Linked DNA regions of Homo sapiens: regions 1, 2, 3, 4, 5 and 6 are each linked to region 7. The links are contacts of gene promoters, found by promoter capture Hi-C in blood cells and fetal thymus (Javierre and others, 2016). All regions are on one chromosome and are shown on one strand. The core of a region is centred on a gene start or on the middle of the fragment in contact, and the rest is flanking DNA. Distances in the headings are between cores, read along the strand shown. Region 1 overlaps TPP2 (tripeptidyl peptidase 2). Region 2 overlaps POGLUT2 (protein O-glucosyltransferase 2). Region 3 overlaps TPP2 (tripeptidyl peptidase 2). Region 4 holds the start of ING1 (inhibitor of growth family member 1). Region 5 overlaps TPP2 (tripeptidyl peptidase 2). Region 6 has its middle 9.7 kb from the start of TPP2. Region 7 holds the start of ARGLU1 (arginine and glutamate rich 1).

Region 1 (2,936 bases), core at 72-2,571, 3.9 Mb after region 7:
GATTTTTCTAATTGCTGGTATCTCTATAAAACTTGAGCTCAGATGCATAATAAAAATACCTTATTTACATTCCCTGCTGGAGTACAATGGTGAGAGTAAGCAAAATATAAACTTCATAAAAATGTAAAGTTTTTTTTTTAACAAAGGTAACTCCTTTTCTGTATTTCTTAAGATTCTAGAAATGTGATTGGCTATTGTCATTACTCTAGTTGCACACTACCTGAACACAGGAAAAAAAAAGAAAGCCCTAGCTGATGAAACCATTTCTTTCTGATCCATCATGAAAAACACAAAGATGAGAGTAAACATTATAATCAACAGTCTAACTGTGATTACCATGATGTTCCCAACAATTTGCTTCTCTCTTGTTAAAGTCTTTTAAGAAATCTCCTTTAAATACCCTCTGGTTCACTCTAAACCCTTGATGATTTTCAACTGATTAGGACAGCACTTTCCCACTGCTTTGATGAATAATGAGAACTGGTCCATGTCATGACAGACTAGAACTATGGCCAACTCTCACAAATGAGAATCATTAACAAAGTTAATGCAAAGTAGGAATTCTTTCAGTGAAGGCGTTCAGATTTCCATCTGGCCAGGATTACTACGTTCTGCCCCTTGCCCTTTAGGTTAAGGTCATGAAAACAATCGTTAAGGTATCTTCTCTATTACTAATCTCATTGACCAAGCATGAGCAAGAATCCTAAACTAAACTCACAGTAGTGGCTAGGTCTTATAATAACCTTCATGAAAACAGCTTAACACAACATTCAATTTGAGAAAACATGTTTTAGTTAGCAAGAACAGAAGAGAAAGATAATGCACTTTTCCTCAAAACACAAACTTATATAATTACAAACAAAATAAGATATATCAGAATGAACATGTCTAACCTTTTCAGCATCCAATTGATGAAGTCGTGCAACGTACAGAGGAAGATAATTAGGATATGTTTCTTTCAATTCGTTATAAATGTCACTAGAATCCAGCCTATGTATGTAAGAAGGAGAGAAATATTTACTTTTTTCTTTTAAAAAGACTATTTGTCTTCTCTATTATTTAACATTGTTTGGAAGTTTAAGCCAATAAAATAAGACATTAATTTGAAATACAAGTATAGTCATTGACAAGGATTATCATTATTGGCAAGTAGTATAAATGGTTAACTAGAAAACAAAAATAAATCAAACTGGGCTGGGCATGGTGGCTCACCCCTGTAATCCCAGCACTTTGGGAGGCCAAGGCAGGCGGATCACAAGGGCAAGAGATCAAGACCATCCTGGCCAACATGGTGAAACCCCGTCTCTACTAAAACTACAAAAATTAGCTGGGGGTGGTGGCACATGCCTGTAGTCCCAGATACTCGGGAGGCTGAGGCAGGAGAATCACTTGAACCTGGGAGGCAGAGGTTGCAGTGAGCCGAGATCAAACCACTGCACTCCAGCCGGGTGACAGAGTGAGACTCCATCTCAAAAAATAAATAAATTAATTAATTAATTAAAAAAAATAAATAAATAAATCAAACTGAAAATTATTCCAATTAAGAGTTCAATAAGATATCCAAATAAAAATATGCATCAATAGCTTTCTTACATACCAGCTATTATATTTATTTAAAAGGAAGAAAAGCATATTCACAAATAGCTAGAAAGATTAAAAGATTTAAAAATGTCTCAGATCTATTAAACTTTTCTGAAAATTCTAGAAAAAATAAAAATTTAAACTTTTCTGAAAATTCCAGTCTTGAGTCAATAAAGAGTTATTCTATGTTCCCCGACGCGGAGGCTGAATAAAATTCCCAATTCTACCTGATTATATGTATCAGGATAAAAACAAATTAACATACAAACTAGCACCAGAAGTGGGTAACTTACATTAAAGTCACTTAATATATTAACAAAACTGCACAGTAGTATAAAAATAAGGTTGACCGGGATTTTGATACTATAACTAACTTTCTATGAAAATAAATTTAACTTGTAGACAACAAAATTTACACTAATTCTTAGTACAAAAAAAATTAAGTCCTGTTTTTCTCTTTTCGCTAACAATTATCCAAGGGCAAAATCAACACTTTCGTTTTACATTTTAAAACTACTGCACCTTAATTATAAATTTTTTTTTCCAAAAAATGTTCTAAGGTTTTTAAAGTTTTGCTAGGGAATGCTAATAATTTTTTGCTGTTTTCTTCTAAAACACCTATTAGGTAAACAACCTTTTCAATTTTTTCTCCATACAATTTTCCCATTTTAAGTGTGAATTTCAATGCTTTCTAGCATAGTAACAGATATATGTAACTATCACAACAGTCAACTTTAAAACATTTTTCATCAATACAAAAAGAAACCGCCATACCCTTTTGCTATCAGATCTCCCCAGCCTCCCCAGCACTAAGCAACCACTAATCTACTTTCTATCTCTATAGATTTCCTCATTCTGGACATTTAATATGAATAGAATCATATAATACATGGTCTTTTTGTGACTGGCTACTACCACTTAACATACTATTTTCAAGGTGCATTCATGTTGGAGCATGTATTAATCCCATTCATGGCTGAAAAGGAATCCCCTGTATGGATACACCACATTTTGTTTGTCCATTCATCAGCTGATGGACATTCCACCTTTTGGCCATTATGAATAATGCTGCTATAAACTGTCATCAACATGTTTTTGTGTGAATATAGGTTTTTATTTTTCTTGGGTATATACCTGGGAGTGGAACTGCTGGGCCATATGGAAACTAAGTTTAATCATTTGAAGAGCAGTCAAGATTGTTTTCCAAAAAGTCTGCATCATTTTTGTATTCTTACCATCAGTGTCTGAGGATTCTGCTTTGTCCACATACTTGCCAAAACTCATCATCTGACTTTATGATTCCAGTCATCCTAGTAAGTGTGAAGTTGTATTTCATTGTGATTTTGATGTGCATT
Region 2 (2,908 bases), core at 58-2,557, 3.8 Mb after region 7:
ACTCTGTCCCCCAAGCTGGAGCACAGTGGCACAATCTCCGCTCACTGCAACCTTCACCTCCCAGATTCAAGCTATTGTCATGCCTCAGCCTCCTGAGTAGCTGAGATTTCAGGCACACACCACCATACCCAGCTAAACTTTTTTGTATTTTTAGTAGAGATGGGGTTTCAACATGTTGGCCAGGCTGGTCTCAAACTCCTGACCTCAAGTTATCCACCCACCTCAGCCTCCCAAAGTGCTGGTATTACAGACGTGAGCCACTGCACCCAGCCTCTATTTCCTTTCTTTTGAACTCATGCAAAGTAGACCTTATTATTATGAAAATATCACAAAACTTCACTGTGAAGAGCTGTCAGAGTAGAAGGCTGACTTACTTGCAATGCCCCAGTATAGTAAAAATGTATTACTTTTTTTTTCTTTGAAACGGGCTCTCACTGTCTTGCCCAGGATGGAGTGGCGCAAACATGGCTCACTGCAGCTTCAACCTCCTGGGCTCAAGTGATCCTCCCACGTCAGCCTCCCAAGTAGCTGAAACCACAGGTGCATGCCAACGCACCCAGCTAATTTTTTATTTTTTGTAGAGACATGGTCTCCCTGTGTTGCCCAGGCTGCTCCCGAACTCCTGGGCTCAGGCTGTCTTCCTGCCTCAGCCTCCCAAAGTGCTGGGATTACCGACATGAGCCAACCTTGCTGGCCTGTAATTCTCTTAAAATGTGTTTTCAATGAAAATGCTCTTCCTATGTAACTAAGCAAAATTCATGAAGCCACATTATAGATGTTTATTACAAGTTTCGAATGCTGAGTGAAATGATCACTGTTGTACTTTGTTATTCTTATGTAAATAGGGCCGGTTTACCATGAGAACTGTGACTGTCCTCTGCAAGATAGTGCAGCCTGGCTACGGGAGATGAACTGCCCTGAAACCATTGCTCAGATTCAGAGAGATCTGGCACATTTCCCTGCTGTGGATCCAGAAAAGATTGCAGTAGAAATCCCAAAAAGATTTGGACAGAGGCAGAGCCTATGTCACTACACCTTAAAGGATAACAAGGTACAACACATGATTTTTTGCTTGTTTGTTTTAGTGATTTTTTTTCTTGTTTTGAACATTTGGCTACAATTAGCTAAATCATTTTATAAACATCATTCGAATGAGCACTGTGACAAGCTTTTCCTCAGTGAAGTCTGCCAGCGTCTTTAGACTAACATAATAAATGGTAAATTCTCTTTTAGGTTTATATCAAGACTCATGGTGAACATGTAGGTTTTAGAATTTTCATGGATGCCATACTACTTTCTTTGACTAGAAAGGTAAGTATATATTTTCTCTTAGCTGTAATAGATAATTTAAGCCCAGATTTTACAGGATAATTTTTCAAAATACAAATTATACACTATCAGGGTATTCTCTTCTGGAGCCTTATGATAATACTATTCTGAAGCTTTCTGTTATTTCAGGTACCTGCGTTTGTTTCCTAGGGCTGCCGTAACAAAGTGCTACAAACTGGAAGCCTTAAAATAACAGAAATGTATTCTCTGGCAGTTATGGAGGCCAGATGTCCAAAATCAAAGTGTCAGCTAGGTGCCATGGCTCACGCCTGTAATCCTAGCACTTTAGGAGGTCAAAGCGGGTGGATCACTTGAGCCCAGGAGCTTGAGACCAGGCTGGGCAACATGGTGAAGACCTGTCTCTACAAAAAATACAAAAATTAGCCTGTAGTAGTTTCAGCTAATGGGGAGCTGAGGCAGGAAGATCGCTTGAACCTAGGAGGTCGAGGCTGCATGAGCCGAGATCACGCCACTGCACTCCCAAGGCCTGGGTGACAAGAGTGAGATCCTGTCCCCCCCCAAAAAAAATTAAAGTGTCAGGAGGCCAGCTCCCTCTGAGATGATCCTTTCCTTTCCTTTCCTGCCTCTTCCTGGCTGCTGTCAGTGGCCCTCCATCTTTGGTGTTCCTTGGTTTGCAGCTGCATCCTCCCATCTCTGCCTCTGTCATCACGTGGGCTTCTCCCCTCATGTCTCTGGGTCTCTTCTTATAAGGACACAGCATAGTGGATTAATGGCCCAGCCTACTCCAGTATGACCTCATGCTAACTAATATCTGCAACAACCCTATTTCCAAATAAGGTCATTCTGAGACACTGGGATTTAAGACTTCAGCATATCTTTTGCAGGGACACAATATTTTATAGAGGAAAGAAAAATGCCTTATCATAAAATTATTTTGGTACTAAACTAACTCTGAGTCCAAAGATGACTTGCCTTGTACTGAATCCCATTCCTTGGGATAATGGGCTTTTGTTGGGTTCTAGTGGAATGGTTTGAAAGTAATGTTAAAATGGTGGATGTGAAAGACTCTACCAACATTTTTACCAAATGTATATTTATTTGTAATCTATTATATTTATTTGTTGAATAATTTGCATGTATATCTTGATTAAACTACTCATGGAAAATCATAATGCCTTTTTTTCAAGATTTCAAAGCACTTACAGTCTGTTAATTCTGAATGTAGGTAGTTATATAGCATCAATATTAAGCCTCCTTTAAACTAAGACATCAGAGTACCGTCATACTTCTCTTGCTCCTCTTTGTCAATCCATGGGAAAATGAGAATGTTCTTCAGGACTTCGGTTTCTCAAGATGCTTCTCAGACTGGTCAGTGCTTTTCTGGCCTTAAAAATGTATATCTGTTGTTTTGTAAATACTCTAAACATTTTCTGTGACTAGATAAAACATATCCTCTTTACATATTCATGCCATTTGCCAGTAGAGGAAGGAAGCATAGCTTGAAACTTACTACGTTGCTGTTGGTGTTGGGCTTCCTGAGTTCAAATCCTGGTCCCACCACCTACCTGGTGTATGTTTTTTAAAATGGAACCATCTGGCTCACTAGCAGGAAACTAGG
Region 3 (2,700 bases), core at 107-2,606, 3.9 Mb after region 7:
AAATGGTATAATCAATGTTGACATCACTGAGACTTGCCCACCAACGAGCAATGCAAAATTCAATTGCTTTTCCACCCTGCAAATAAAAGTAAATAAAATATATCTCTTTTCTTATTTTTCTCAAATTACAGAATATAAATACTAGCTGTTTCAGAGCAATTCTGTTTTCAAACTTTTCCTGTTTGTAGCAAGAAAACTCAAAAATTTTAACAGCTATGCTAAGTAAGAGTTAGACAAATCATTTGCAGAGATATGGTGTATTTAAATATACATAGTTATTTACTCATAACCCTATGCTTCTTGTCATAAAAGATCCTAGGCAGCTTCTGAAAGCACATATAATAAAGCAAATGTGATTTTATTATTTCGAAGTGAAATAAAAAATTAGGACCAAAAGAAAAATAATCAAGTATAACGACACAATAAAGATACTTCAACTTTGTAAGGCATACTCAATAGGCACAATTGAGTTTGGGCTCACAGCTACCTGGCAACCAAAACAAAATGACATTATGGTCATTTACATCTTTCTCCCTATTAAAAAATAAAGATAAGGAAAAGGAAAAAAAAACACCTGCTCTTAGCACTGAGTTTTAAAGTAAGTTTTCTAGTAATCAGTGATTTAAAAGTTTAAAAAGATGAAGCAACACTGATCCATGGAAGAACACAAATGAAAGTAACCAGAAACCAAGAGATACTGGGAAAATCCCAGAACCAACTGAAAACACAAAGGAGCGCATTGAAGGAAGAACATCAGTACTTTCACCTTCTATGGAAGAAAGACTAGTCATCATTTCCAACACCACAGATAAGAATGCAGTCTGCCATCATCTGAGATAACTTAGACATGAAGCAGTAGCAGTTTTCCTATAATGCAAATTAGCCTCATAGCTTAACAACACAGCATTAGTAAAATAAGTTAAGTGACAAGCAAACAGGTCTTAAAGAAATTAATCTATAGTACAACAAAGAATAATCTAAATCAGGGTCCTAACTACAAGGCACGAGAATCTACCAGACTAGTATGTTTCTTTGACTATGCTATTCAAGAATTACAGCCATAATTACCTCCAACTTGATTTCAAGTACCCTGATTAGATTTTCTATTTTTCTACTTCATTTTTTTGGCATTAAAAAAATATATAATCCCAACATGCTAAATACAAACTATAAAATCAAATGCAAATACTTAGTCTTAGCCCATACCAAAAAGGCAAATAAATTGTGTTAGGATTATAAACTATAATTAAACTTACTAGGACAGGAAAAGCTTCAGTCAGTGTTCCTTTCTCTGGAAGAGAACAAAACTTATAGAATTCATGGCTTCGATATGCTCTTTGCTTCACAAGCTGGACTGCATGTAGAACAAACTTTGCTGACACCTCAGAAGAACACGAACACACTGTCACTTCTAAAATAAGAAAGAAAGAAGCAAAGCTTTAAACTTATAAGACCTAAAATTGACATAAAGTGGCTTTAATAATGCCCACTTAGGGATAATTCCCATGTAGGGACATAATAGGGATCAAAAATAAAATGTACACTCAAATCTGCATATTTCCATAAAAACAAAGAATCAACAAAATATTAATAAAGGTAGAAGACTAGAAGATTTTCTATGGGAACGAAAGAAACTGGTATTAAAATGAACCACCACCATGAGGCTGCAAACACCTGGAAACAGCAAGCTGTCCATAGATGCATACACAATTACATTAATCGGGTACCTTTTAAAATCCCTCCTTGTTTTAGCTGAAAACCAGTCAATTCCAGATAAAGTAAGGAAGGTTATATTTTTGGAAACCTCTATTTGTTATCATGCCTCAATTCCTCATTGATAACTTTTCCTAATCTCTCTTCTTGGTCTACTTGTGTACTGTGTGCGTCTACAAAGCCTGGCACGACTACTTATGCTTAACTTTACTCTGAGCCAGCGCTGGAGGTAAGCCAAGATCACCGCAATGCCAGATTGGCAGCTTTTCTAAAGAACACCCAAGCTAATTCAAGGGAACTGAAGCAAGGCGCAATGCCGTGGCTCATAAAACCAGGTGTGCAGAGAGCTCTCAGAACCTAGTCAGTTGCTAAGAATACAAAATCTAGTGTTATGACAATATTTCTAATTATTTGAAATAAAACTAAGACTGTTAAATTCTCTTAACTACTTGCATTCTAGATCATTTGATAATTTTTATTTAAAAAAACAAATTATTTTCAATACCAACCTAAACCAATCATAAATCAGTGCCATTTATCACTAAACAAGTACCCAATTCAGTATTAATTAACCATAGATTTGTATTCTTTAATTTACCAGTGCACATTTTACCAGAGCCTGGAGCTCTACAAGTCCCAGGGGCCCTATGAGAATGGGACCCCAGGAATGCTGAACACAGCAACTCTGACTCCACCCTCTAGAAGTACTGTCAAGTGTGAGCGTAATCCCAACGAAGACAAGCTATGTACCAAGTACTATAAAATCCCTAATCCTTACAACAGACTAACGACTATATTTACAGTTGAAACAGAAGTCCAGAAAATTTAGAAACCTGCCCCCAGGTAACCATTAGCGTATGGCAGAGTGTGGATCCAAACCCAGACTTCTCAATTTCCAAAGCCCGTGGCCTTGCCGCTACTCTGTGCTGCCTCCCTCTAATCCAGTTCTCTTAACTGCAATATCTTGGACTAGATGCTCTCAAGGCC
Region 4 (2,783 bases), core at 1-2,500, 4.1 Mb before region 7:
AGAGAAAAGCCCTCGTCCTCCGCAAACTACAACCGGCGGCGTCGCCCCTCGCAGTCGGCCCCTACTCGGTGTCCAGCTCCAAGTGAGGGCCGGAGGGGGCTGGGCGGGGGCGGCCGACCTACCCCGAGCGGAGTACTACCCGGTACTTTATGTAACACTCAGATTCGGGACTGAGTGGGGGGCGACGAAGAAGGGCCAGAGGAACGGCGTTGCCCGGGACCGAGGCACCGGGTCCGCGGGAACCCCGGCCCACAGCCGCCCTCCTCCTGCAGCCCCGTCTCGGCGCCCTATAGCCCCAGGCGCCGGCACATCCCTCCATCTCGCGCCGTAATCTGCACCCCCTCCTAGAGGACGCGGCTTGGACCCGCCGCCCCCTCCCCCGCAGCACCCGCCTCATCACTTCACTACAAAGAGCGCTTTGGTCGCGCAGCCTTGCAGCGAGACCTCTCGCGCCTCCTTCCTCCTCCGTGTCCCGGGCTTTGCACACAAGGACCTTGGCGAATCAAAGGCGCTCCAGACCTTTTGTTCCTGCCCCTGCCGAGGGCCGCCGCTGCGGAGCCGGCCGCTTCCTCCGGTCCACGGCAGGACCGGCCCGGCTCCGCGGCGCGCCCGGACCCGCCGGGAAGGAGGCGGCCGCCCCCGCCCATCCATCACCCGGCCGTACCTTGGTATTTCGCGTCGATCTCCCGCATCAGCGAGACATTTCTCTGCAAGTCGAAAGGCAGGGACTCGATGGAGTCCAGGTAGTCCTCCACATAGTTCACCAGGTGGAGCTGCTCCCCGTTGGCAGGACTCAACATGGTTCACCCCGGAGGTCCCCGGCGACTCGGCGCGGCTTTCCGCTTCCTCCACCCCCCGCCCCCCTCAAAAAATAGCACTGCAAAATGCAAAGCCCTCGCTCTCCCGGCGCCCCCCCGCCGGCTCCTGCTTCGGCCCGGCGGCTACATCTGCCGAGCCCGTCCGCCGCCTCCGGGTCCGCGGGGACCCCAGCGCCTGAGGGCGCGGGCCGCGGTGGCGGTGGCTCCCGGGCGCACGCCCCGGCCGGCGGCGCAGGCCCCCTCTCAGGCGGCGGGGCTGGCGCCGGGGGCCGCGCGTACGAGCGCGCACACACCGGCGGGAGAGGGCCCAGCGCCGCGGCCGCCGCTGCCCACTCGCCCACTGGGCTGGGTAGAAGAGAGGAGCGGAGCGGGCAGCGGGAAGGGGCGCGCTCCGCTGGCCGCCGAGCCGCACTTGTCCAACGTGGAAAACCCAAATACCAGTTTCAAACACTTGGGAAACATTCAGCCCCGCTGCGCAGCGCGCATGCGCCCCGGCCCCCTCCCCCGGCAACGGCCCCGCCCCCCGCCGCATTCACGCCCCTCACCGTCCCAGGCCCTGGGGGCTGCGGGCTCCAGGCCGGCCCTCGCGGGGGCGTGGCCTTGCCTGTCACTTTTTCCAGAGGCGAGGGTCGCGGAGGGGACAGCGTCAGGGCCGCTGGGGTGTGGACGGCGGGCGAGGCGCAAACTTTACTAGGAGTTTTTGGCACTTGGAGGCAGAGCCTGTTGGGCGGCACAGCACGCCCGCTGGGAAACGCAGGGGAGCGGCCTGCTTCGCTGAAAACCCGACCAGGACCTAACGGGCCGCGGGACAGAAACCTCCGAGACCATGGTACACAGCAACTACCGCAACTCGCTCCTCAGCCCCTGACTCTTCGTCCCCGCCCCACAGAGCAGTATAAGTAGGGCCCGAAACAGAACTGGCAACCGCAGTAGCCAATCTACTTGCCAACATCACTTTGACAGCCCAATCACGATGAAGAGGAGGCGGGGAGACCGTGAGTAATGCCCCCCGGACTCTTACTACTAGAAACCCAAGTCCTCCGGGAGGCGGAAGGAAGGGGAGGGCCGGGCACGGGCGGAAGTGGCGGCGCATGCGCACTGGCACCCTCTCGGTGTCCTTTGAGCTGCGGCCGCAGAGTGCGCGGGAGACCTACCCATTCCGCGGCCGGACCACCACTCCCAGCAGCCTAGGCGGCTCCCGCGCCTGCGCCATCCGTCACCGCCCTCCCTTTGTGTCGTCTCCCGGTACTCAGTTTGGAACGGCTTGGAGACAAAGGGGCCTGAGAGGGAAGCTGCTTCCTAGTGCCGAGCCCCAGAAGAGGTGGATAGGCCCGAGGGGCGCCTTCCCTAGGCCTTATCTCTTCCCGCCCTGTGTCATGGACACCGTTCTCGGAGGCCGCTCCCCACACTTGGAAAGGCCGCCCACAGTATGCAGACACCCGGTCGGCCGGCGTCCTGAGGCCATTCAGCTCCCCGGACCGCCCTCCCCCGCGTCGCCCCTCTACCCTCCCAAAGCTCCCGGATTTTGGGCTTTCTGAGAAGCCTGGACGCCACGCGAGCCCGTTGCCTAGGCGACCGGCCCCGCGCGCCGGCCCCCCCCCTTCCGGCCAAAGGGCCCGCCCCTCCTGGGCGTGGCCTCGTGCCTTTGTGCACTTCCCGCCTGGCTCTCTGGTTCCGGGGCGGCCTCGGCTTCGGCCTCCGCCCCGCTGCGGCCGCCGCGGGTCCCCTCCGGGGTGGCCCCGAGAGCTGTGTTCGCCACGCTTGGCTGCCTGCTTTTCTCTGATTTTCTTCCGCCTTGGACCCTGCTCTATTTGCATTGTCTTTTTTTCAGCAAGTCGGAGAACGGTGCCTTGTCAGTTTTCACCTTTCTCACTGGACTTTCTCTTTTCCGGAGAGCCGGGTTGGTGGTGCTGCCTGTGTATTCCACGAACTAAGCCCTGTCCCCAGCCCTTGCAGTGTTTCTGT
Region 5 (2,846 bases), core at 66-2,565, 3.9 Mb after region 7:
GAGCTTCAGTCCTATAGTTATAACAGACTTAAATTTATTTCTCACAGAAGGCATTTTCTACATTACTTTATGGTTGTCTTCCTTCATGTTTTTTCCATTTTACTAACTAAAATAGTTTTTAAATTATATTCCGAACACTTTAGAAGATAGCCTGATTAAAACAAAATACACTTAATATTCAAAAAGTCATAAATGAAATGAACATCATTAAAAGTTCAATATTATGTTTTTAGCTCTAAGTATGTTTTAAATGCAAGAACTGTATTTTAACAAGCTATGCAAGTCAGTCAAAATTGCCAAGTAAATTAATAGAAGCCTACTGGTAGAGCACAGAGAGATGATTTATCATAAATACTGAAGCATATTTCATTAACAAATTACAACACTTTGGAAAAAAGGATTCTTAAAAATTTGTTTTTATGCATTGCCCTAATATGACTGATGTAATTTCAAATAATAGAATATACGAAGGTATAGGAAACTAAACACTTATGGAGAAAATGAAGCAAAGAGCAAACAAGTCACATATTAAACAGAATCAGGCTTGAGATTAGTGGGTAAAATGCATGTCACCAAATCTTCCACATGCTACAGAAGTAGCACTTGTCTCCAAAATTTATGCAATCGGCCAGCATCCATCCTGGAAGTCATCTACAAAGTCCTCCCTCTGTTCTTCCCCCAGCCCATCTAACCGCACAGTCCCATCTCCATAATGTGTCCGCCTATTTCCACTGTCTCTTCCTTACCGCTGTTGCCTGATGAGCTGATGGCCTGCTCTGCCCCTACATTTGACTCCTGCTGAAAACCTTCCATGTCTTCCAACGGCTCTTAACATTGAAACTCCAGAGCAATGCCCCTAATAATCATCTGCTCACCTCCCTCACCTCCTGCTCCCATCATATCCTCTGTGGCCACACCAAACTTCTCACAGTTCCTCCAACATCCTCTGGATCTTTCCCCCACCCTTTCTACCTCTCTGCTTAGTTTACTGTGATGATCCTTCAAGTCTCAATGTAAGATGTTATTAATACTTTTGGGAAATCTTTCTCGATTCTTCCTAGACTGGTTCAGACGTTCCCAACACTTGCTTCCATGGAATCTAGAGTCCATGGAGTAGCTTCTATGGTGTCAACCTGGTACAAAGAAGGTACTCAATAAACATCTGCCACATGATTAAGGAATTAACGAAATCATCATCCTTAACAACATTCTCACAGCAAATACAGTGACACATTCCACAGGTCAGTTTCTTATAACCACCATCATTGGAATGACTCAACAATACAACCAACACATCAAAACATAAATTATTACTGACTTCTCTAAATAACACGACAGAGGACAAGTATGAATGTGGTGCAAGGTTATAACTTTCTGAAGGTCTAGTTGACTGAATTCAAGTAGCAGCTAGAATACAGAGAAAGGATATCAAAATGAGGCTCATACACAGAGCAGGGTACATGTAAGTGGGGAGGATGAGAGAAAAGGCTTTTGTTTTATGTATTTCTCGACATTTTCACACATCTCTCAATTTTCTGTGGAAAGAATCTAGAGCTTTCATCAAGAATCTAAAAGGAAACATGACATAAGCAAGGTCAAAATCCACTGTAAAGAAATCAACTAATAGCTTCTCCTTTATGTAATCCTCTGTAAACACTGTTTCTCTCAACCAGTTTTTGTTCCATTTGGAGTGACAATGAGTCTGAGGCTCTGCGTCCTGACAGATGCTCAGAACAGAGTCATCTGAGGCCACCCGTTAAGTGCAGAGATACGCGCTAAACAATTAGCAGAAATGTGGCAGGGAGAGCACAGACTGGACATTCGTCATCAAACAAAACAAAACAAAAAACCCACGGTACTTAAAGAATAGGTCACTTTACCTCCCTTCAGAAATGGTTGGCATTTTTGAAATGTGAAATGAGAACATCTGCAGACAGGACTGGATTAACCTTATGTACCCTGGGATCTACAAGGTTCTCTTCAAAAAATTTTGGATCTCTGAGATCAAAGCCCTATAGGATATACTGTATTATGCAAAAAAGTTACATTATATCTAGTACCACCTGAAAGTATAATTATGCTATATTCATTTATTATAATAAAATGTTCTAAAATGTTATTCTGAGATTTCAGATTTTATTTCACTTAATGTTAGATTAAATTTCATTTCTAACTCAAAAGTTCTAAACAAAACCCTTAGAATAGTTGTCAACAAACTGCTACAAGTGAGTCACTTTATCAAGCACCTTGAAGACCAAGGAAATCTTGTGGAAACACACACTGGTACCCTGGACATCCTGACTCCGGATTCCTTTTCCTAAGACAAAGTAATCTGCAGTGTTTTCAGAACCTAGAGCAAACACTTTAAATGAAACCACCTATTGCCTCACTACTCAATCCCTGCTAATATTTTAGTATTTCTTTAAGTTCTTTTGTAGTATATACTTTCCTAAATATACTCTGTTTCGTATTTAGCATTTTCCTTGAATTTAACCTTGCCTCCTTTCCCACACTAAAACGCACCTAAGGCTTATCACTGAGTGTGACTGTATCATGTTACCCCAGATGGTGGATGTATCAAGGTTTATTATTCTGTATAAAGCCTCTGGAAAATAATTTTTCAAAACGTGTATGCATATGCACACAACAAAACAACATGTATGAATACACACAAAAGTGCATTAATATTTAATATCTAGATTGAAAGAGTTATGTGCAGTTATTTTATTAACACCATCATCCCCAAATTGAGCAGAAATTTCTCATTCAACTTAACATTGCATACACCTTTGATGAAAGATGAGTTAGTACCTGCACACGTGGGAGGAGAACCCTCCTTTAAGAAG
Region 6 (2,700 bases), core at 181-2,680, 4.0 Mb after region 7:
AAGCATTGGTAATGGAGTATCTATGAGGTGGGGGACTGGCAGGACTTATTTCCTGGTGCCAATGAATGAGGTGAAGAAACCGTAGGAACCAGCAGATGGTGACAACAGTGATCCCTCGCTGCCCTCATTGCTCATTGACATAAAACAGTCCCACCAGTGCCGTGACAGTTCTCAAATGCCATGGCAGCAACCCAAAAGCTACACCTTTTTCCGTGGCAACTACCTGGAAGTTACCTCCCCTTCCCTAAAAAGTTCTAAATAACCCAACCCTCAGTTTGCATTAACCCACCCCTTAATTTGCATGCAATTGTAAGTGGGTATAAGTGAGTATAAACCCAGTTGCGAAGAGCCCATATGCTGCTCACTCTGGGTGCACTGCAAGGAGCAGTGCTGTTCAGTAAAAGGTTGCTAACACGACTGGCTTGCCCTTGAATTGTTTCCTGAGGGAAGCCAAGAATCCTCCCAGTTTTGGTGCTCTCATGTCCTGCATCATCTACAACAGGAAGTGCCCCCCCCCATGGTTAGTAACCTTGTGTGAACTGCTAGACAGACAGTAGGAGGCCTCTACTCATGGATAACCCCCTGGATAGAAGAAACTACCCCAGGTCATCTGAGAGTCCTATCTTCCTAACTGTGTACCACCTAGCACTTGAGTGCTTCAGAAATGGTGGTTGAACTACACTATGTCCTCCCTGGCCAAAGAATTGTGTTCTACCATACCCAGTGATGTCTCACACTGCTTCTAACTCAGAATAGGTTCTCAAATCTTTGTGCATTTGCCCAATTTATTTTAATATCAAATGTTTACACTATTTGGTAATTACTGATTGCATAGTCTCTCTAACTCTATTACTTGGTGTTCTTAGGAGTGAGAAAAAAAGAATAATACAAAAACAGGATAACATTATGTGTTGTAGTATCACAGAGAGAAAGGAATGCCCAAGAAACATTGCAGCTTGAAGAGTGTAAAATTCTCTAGACTTAAATTGTGTATCCTTCCAGAAATGTCGTATGCATACAAAGAATATGATGCATATATTTCCTCTTTCCTTTTTTACACAAATTGTAGTATACTATACTCACTGTCCTGCACTTTATTTTTTTCTTTGTTTTTTGCTTCACAATATTTCCTGATGAATATTCGTACGTAGAATTTTATTCTTTCTTGTTAATTAGGCGTACTATTAATTTGTTTGGATATATCAGTTTATTTAACTCCATGTGTTTGTTTTTAAATCTCTTGAGAAGCTGGAAATGGGTCCTTTCTTGCAAGTACAGTTGTTTCCAAAACATAAGCCTTTTGGGTAATAAAGGTCATCATTTACTTTAGTTCTGACAAAGTCAGATGTCTGTATATGGCTTATATAAGTTCCACTCCCATCCTTAGAGGCATTCAACCCACAGTCCCTGCTAAGTGGGCCGGAAGAATGTAACCCACTTACCTTCTGGCCACAGACGATAGACCAGGAGTAGAGTCCTGACCCGAGGCAGAGAAGAAGCAAATGGGTATGTAGTGTGTGATGGGGGCTTACAGTGAGCTTCTGATCCAATCAGCTTCTGCTTTTGGGTTGACAGGTGATTCCTTTGTATCCTTAAATTTGACACTTTTATTTGACATCATATGGAATTTTCCCTTACTTAAAGCAGCTTCTGCTAGAACAGGGCATATAGTACTTACTTTGTTTCACCTCAATTCCTGATGTATATTAATCAGCAAAAACATTCTCTCACTGAATTCCATGACAATAAATCACCATGAGGATGGCAGACATGTATTAAATCAGACAAGCCATTGTCCAAGGTGTAGTTCCTGCCCTGTGGTGCTTCACTGGATAGGCTCATGCCTGGACCTGCCTAACTGGGGCTGTTGTCAATTGTGGCACCTGCGTGGGACTTCATAAAACCTGTCCATCTGCCCACATTTGGAATGTCAGAAAAACTTGCCAGGTTTAAGATTCCAGTTAAAGGCGAATCTCAATGATGATACCGAACATCCTGAAGTGAACAAGAGAAGCCAACAATATGGTAGCAAAAGCATCTGGGCAGCAGATAAAGGGTTTTGTCTTCTAGGTCTAGGTCTGCCACTAATTAGCTACCTGACCTTTAGCAAGGCCTCTGCTTCCTCTATCATCAATTTGGAAGTTATATGAGTATAAATGAGGCCGGGCTTGGTGGCTCATACCTGTAATCCCAGCACTTTGGGAGGCTGAGGCAGGTGGATCACTTGAGGCCAGGGGTTCAAGACCAGCCTGGCCAATATGGTGAAACCCGTCTCTACTAAAAATACAAAAATGGATGTGGTGGTGCACACGTGTAATCCCAGCTACTCGGGAAATTGAGGCATGAGAATTGCTTGGGTCCGAGAGGCGGAGGTTGCAGTGGGCAGAGATCATGCCACTGCACTCCAGCCTGGGCGACAGAGCAAGATTCTCTCTCTCTCTCTCAAAAAAAAAAAAAGTTACATGAGAAAAAATAGCTTCCACAGTGCTAATAACTATTTGCTATTTGCTATTAGTAAAATGTGACTGTATGTAGTAGAGACTCAATAAACAAAACCAAAACTGGTCAGATTTACACCACCTCAAGTTAAGACTTACTAAAGTACACAATTTTTTTAAAAGAGGACTTCTTAGTTTGCAAGAAATGTTTTTAAAAATCAGCTTAGCCATACAGTAAAGGGACCTTGTTTTCTTGAGGTAA
Region 7 (2,986 bases), core at 20-2,519:
TTTTGTTACAGCAGTCAACACAGACTAATACACTACTCTTCTTTGTTTCCAAGTTTTCTTGATAATTAATTATGTGATCTTCCATATAAAACTTAAAATTAATTAGTTCTAAAACACATATCCCCAAGAGAATTTGGGACTCTCATGAGAATTGCACTAATTTTGTAATTTGACTTGGGAAGAATTGACAGTATTTTTGATACTGACTACTCACCTAAGAATACAGCATGTTTTACATTTACTAGGGCCTTATTACTGCCTTTTCAGTAAAGGTTTATAATAAAGATTGTGTAACTTGTTAAAGTTTATCCCTAAGTATTTTATGGTTTCTGTTGCCATTGTGGAGGAAATATTATTTCATTTTTAATATGTTTTTGCTTATTCAAATAATTCTAATTTTTCTTCTACTTACTTAAGCTTTATTATTGCACTCAATTTTAAAATTGAGGCACCTAGATTTTCAAGGGTTCCTGTCATCTGCAAATATTAACATTGCCTTTTCCTTTTAGGTCTTAACAATGACACAGTTTGTTGTGCCACATAGGGACGAAGCTTTTCGTGGCTAGGGTTGAGGAGGGCTTGCTGGTTATGTGCAAGGGCTTTGCACAATATGATCTAGGTTCACGTCCCTGCTCTGTCACCTACTGGTTGTGTGACCCTTATTTAACCTCTGTGGACCTCAGGGTCCTCATCTCTGAAACGTGGATAATAGTAGTACTTAATTCAGAATTGTAAGAATTAAGCACTTGTTAATACATTAAAGCATTTAGAAGGCACATTAAGCCCTATAGTAAGCATTAGGTTACATTCATCAAAACCTGCTGCCTACTTACCTCCTGCAAGTCTCATAAGCACTTCAGAAAGTGTGGTGTCTCCATTCTACGAATGAGGAAACTAAGTCCAAGGCAGCAAGTGATGAGTGCAGGGTCACTTGGAGATACATTTTAGGGCTGCCCCACAAGACCAGCTCCTAGAAAATAATGCAATCAATCAACTTCTGCGAGGCCGGACTTAAATCCCACTAAAACGTGCTTAATTCATTCAACAGGCGTTGGCATCTTACCAGGGAGGAAAAAAAAAAAAAGAGTACGCCAAGGCGAAAAGGAGAGTCTCCATCTATTGCGTCTCAGGCTTCCGCCAAGACTGGCGGAAAAAAACGAGTCCGCTCCGAAGCGCTCGCCTGCCTTCGGCAAAAATCGTCAGGAGGCGGGGCCCACGCTTCGGCACGTTTCGCGCAGGGCATTGTGGGAAGGGCGGCCGGTGCAGCCGCAGCTGCCATCTTAGGGGCGCCTGGCGCTACGGGTTTCTCGTTGGAGGCGGCCTTCGTGGCAGCTGTAGACGCCGGGAAAAGGCATAAAGTCCGTTGGCCGACACCTTTCTTTCCTCCGGCCTCGGTAGAACCGCCAGCCCGCGTCCGAAGGCGGAGGCGAGGGGAACTGGCCGCGTGAGGGGCCTGAGGCGAGCGGTTAGAGCGTCTCCCGGAAGGATGGGCCGGTCTCGGAGCCGGAGCTCGTCCCGCTCCAAGCACACCAAGAGCAGCAAGCACAACAAGAAGCGCAGCCGGTCCCGGTCGCGATCCCGGGACAAGGAGCGCGTGCGGAAGCGTTCCAAATCTCGGGAAAGTAAACGGAACCGGCGGCGGGAGTCGCGGTCCCGTTCGCGCTCCACCAACACGGCCGTGTCCCGGCGCGAGCGGGACCGGGAGCGCGCCTCGTCCCCGCCCGACCGCATCGACATCTTCGGGCGCACGGTGAGCAAGCGCAGCAGCCTGGACGAGAAGCAGAAGCGAGAGGAGGAGGAGAAGAAAGCGGAGTTCGAGCGGCAGCGAAAAATGTGAGTGCCCGCGCGGGGAGGGACCGGGGCGTGCGGAGAGCAGGGCGCGGGGCGAGGGCGTGGGGCCGGGGCGGGACGGTGCGGGCCGGGAGAATGGCGGGGACGGTCCGGGGCTGGGGACCGGGCGCGGGAACGGGTCGGAGAGGCGGCGGCGGGGCGGGCAGGCTTGGCGTTTGGAAAGCTTGGGGTGGGACAGACCCAGAAGTTGTTCGGGATGGAAAATTCGAGGGCTTGAGCAGAAAGGGTTTAAGAGAAGGCGATTTTGGCGCGAGAGAGGAGTGGTGTCCCGGAAGTAGGGGTGGAGTTCGGAGTGAGGTCGGAGAGCTGCGTTGGCTTGTGAGGCCGGGAGCGAGCCGGCCTGCAGATGTGGAGGGTGGTGAGCGTTTGCTGGTCGGCTTGAGGAGGAGAGAGAAGGGAATTAACCTTTGAGATGCGAATCACAGCTGGCCAGAAGCATTCTATTGAAGCTCAAATTTGGGACAGGACTTAACTAATCTCGGGAATCATACACTTTAGGTGGTCCGCCAGAAAAATGCATTTTCACTTTAGTGTATTCCTGTTGTTAAGGTGTTGGGATTGCTTTTTTCCCCTTGAGCCTACACCCTCACCCCTTCCTTGAGATGTTAAAAAAAAAAAGCATAGACCTTAAGTGTACAGTGCGATGAGTTTTTTGACCTTTGAATTCACCTGTGTAATCACCATCCCAAAGCCTACCGCTTTTTTAACTTGCTTTCTATTCCTGTAGCAAACACGTGCAGTTTTGTTGTTTCCCTTACACTGTGCTTCTTCAGAAGACACTTGAAGGGTTGATTTTATTTTGGCGTTGCTCCCATGAAGGATATTTAGTGAAAACTAGAGTTAGAGTGTGTTTCCGAAAATGTCAGCTCTCAAGTATTTCTGGCTATGAAAGTAGATGTGGATAAATAATCCCAAACTAAAGGAATTTTTGGGTTTTAAAATTTAGGGATTTGTTGTGTGTTTTGCTTTATGATCATCGTACTTTGATGCTCTGGGTATTCAGTTTCCAAAAACCGCATTGAAAAGTAGATTTGAACAGTCCTACTAACTCCCTATTGAACCAGCCGTACTTGGTCAGTTCTTCAGTGAATATTTAGAAAGTGCTCATGAAGCAAGAACGTTACTGAATTTATGA

What was found. Contacts are between HindIII fragments. The CHiCAGO score rates a contact against its expected background, and 5 or more counts as called.
Region 1: a contact is called between a fragment that was not itself captured here and the fragment with the promoter of ARGLU1 in region 7, in 2 of 17 cell types (total B cells and total CD4 T cells). The highest score is 11.1, in total B cells.
Region 2: a contact is called between a fragment that was not itself captured here and the fragment with the promoter of ARGLU1 in region 7, in 6 of 17 cell types (non-activated CD4 T cells, total B cells, total CD4 T cells and 3 more). The highest score is 12.9, in non-activated CD4 T cells.
Region 3: a fragment that was not itself captured here is called in contact with the fragment with the promoter of ARGLU1 in region 7 in 4 of 17 cell types (total CD4 T cells, naive B cells, naive CD8 T cells and 1 more); the score reaches 13.0 in total CD4 T cells.
Region 4: the fragment with the promoter of ING1 here is called in contact with the fragment with the promoter of ARGLU1 in region 7 in 1 of 17 cell types (monocytes); the score reaches 5.2 in monocytes.
Region 5: a fragment that was not itself captured here is called in contact with the fragment with the promoter of ARGLU1 in region 7 in 10 of 17 cell types (total B cells, naive B cells, naive CD8 T cells and 7 more); the score reaches 26.9 in total B cells.
Region 6: a contact is called between a fragment that was not itself captured here and the fragment with the promoter of ARGLU1 in region 7, in 13 of 17 cell types (naive CD8 T cells, total CD4 T cells, non-activated CD4 T cells and 10 more). The highest score is 26.7, in naive CD8 T cells.

What each region holds. Positions count from the first base shown.
Region 1 is chr13:102,661,702-102,664,637 of GRCh38, reverse strand. TPP2 (tripeptidyl peptidase 2) reads right to left here. Exons shown (of 30, transcript NM_001330588.2): 26 at 894-990. Among named protein-coding and RNA genes, the nearest start is that of METTL21C, 32 kb to the left of the region's middle. The HindIII fragment of the contact is 4,346 bases long and covers 1-2,936 here.
Region 2 is chr13:102,791,744-102,794,651 of GRCh38, reverse strand. It overlaps POGLUT2 (protein O-glucosyltransferase 2), which reads left to right. Exons shown (of 10, transcript NM_024089.3): 3 at 846-1,051; 4 at 1,234-1,311. Among named protein-coding and RNA genes, the nearest start is that of POGLUT2, 5.8 kb to the left of the region's middle. The HindIII fragment of the contact is 274 bases long and covers 1,171-1,444 here.
Region 3 is chr13:102,641,933-102,644,632 of GRCh38, reverse strand. It overlaps TPP2 (tripeptidyl peptidase 2), which reads right to left. Exons shown (of 30, transcript NM_001330588.2): 17 at 1,257-1,411; 18 at 1-76. Among named protein-coding and RNA genes, the nearest start is that of TPP2, 46 kb to the right of the region's middle. The HindIII fragment of the contact is 167 bases long and covers 1,273-1,439 here.
Region 4 is chr13:110,712,167-110,714,949 of GRCh38, reverse strand. ING1 (inhibitor of growth family member 1) reads right to left here and starts at 1,250. Exons shown (of 2, transcript NM_198219.3): 1 at 665-1,250. The coding sequence starts at 800. It also overlaps a transcript of CARS2 not described here. RefSeq lists silencers at 1-23, 64-323, 414-703, 864-1,053, 1,064-1,413 and 2 more and enhancers at 2,084-2,133, 2,734-2,783. The HindIII fragment of the contact is 10,550 bases long and covers 1-2,783 here.
Region 5 is chr13:102,619,609-102,622,454 of GRCh38, reverse strand. The region is part of intron 5 of TPP2 (tripeptidyl peptidase 2); the gene reads right to left. Among named protein-coding and RNA genes, the nearest start is that of TPP2, 24 kb to the right of the region's middle. The HindIII fragment of the contact is 6,535 bases long and covers 1-2,846 here.
Region 6 is chr13:102,585,920-102,588,619 of GRCh38, reverse strand. No RefSeq gene overlaps it. Among named protein-coding and RNA genes, the nearest start is that of TPP2, 9.7 kb to the left of the region's middle. The HindIII fragment of the contact is 4,556 bases long and covers 1-2,700 here.
Region 7 is chr13:106,566,420-106,569,405 of GRCh38, reverse strand. It overlaps ARGLU1 (arginine and glutamate rich 1), which reads left to right and starts at 1,269. Exons shown (of 4, transcript NM_018011.4): 1 at 1,269-1,833. The coding sequence starts at 1,487. RefSeq lists enhancers at 1,128-1,197, 1,208-1,327, 1,003-1,913 and a silencer at 1,808-2,107. The HindIII fragment of the contact is 1,462 bases long and covers 555-2,016 here.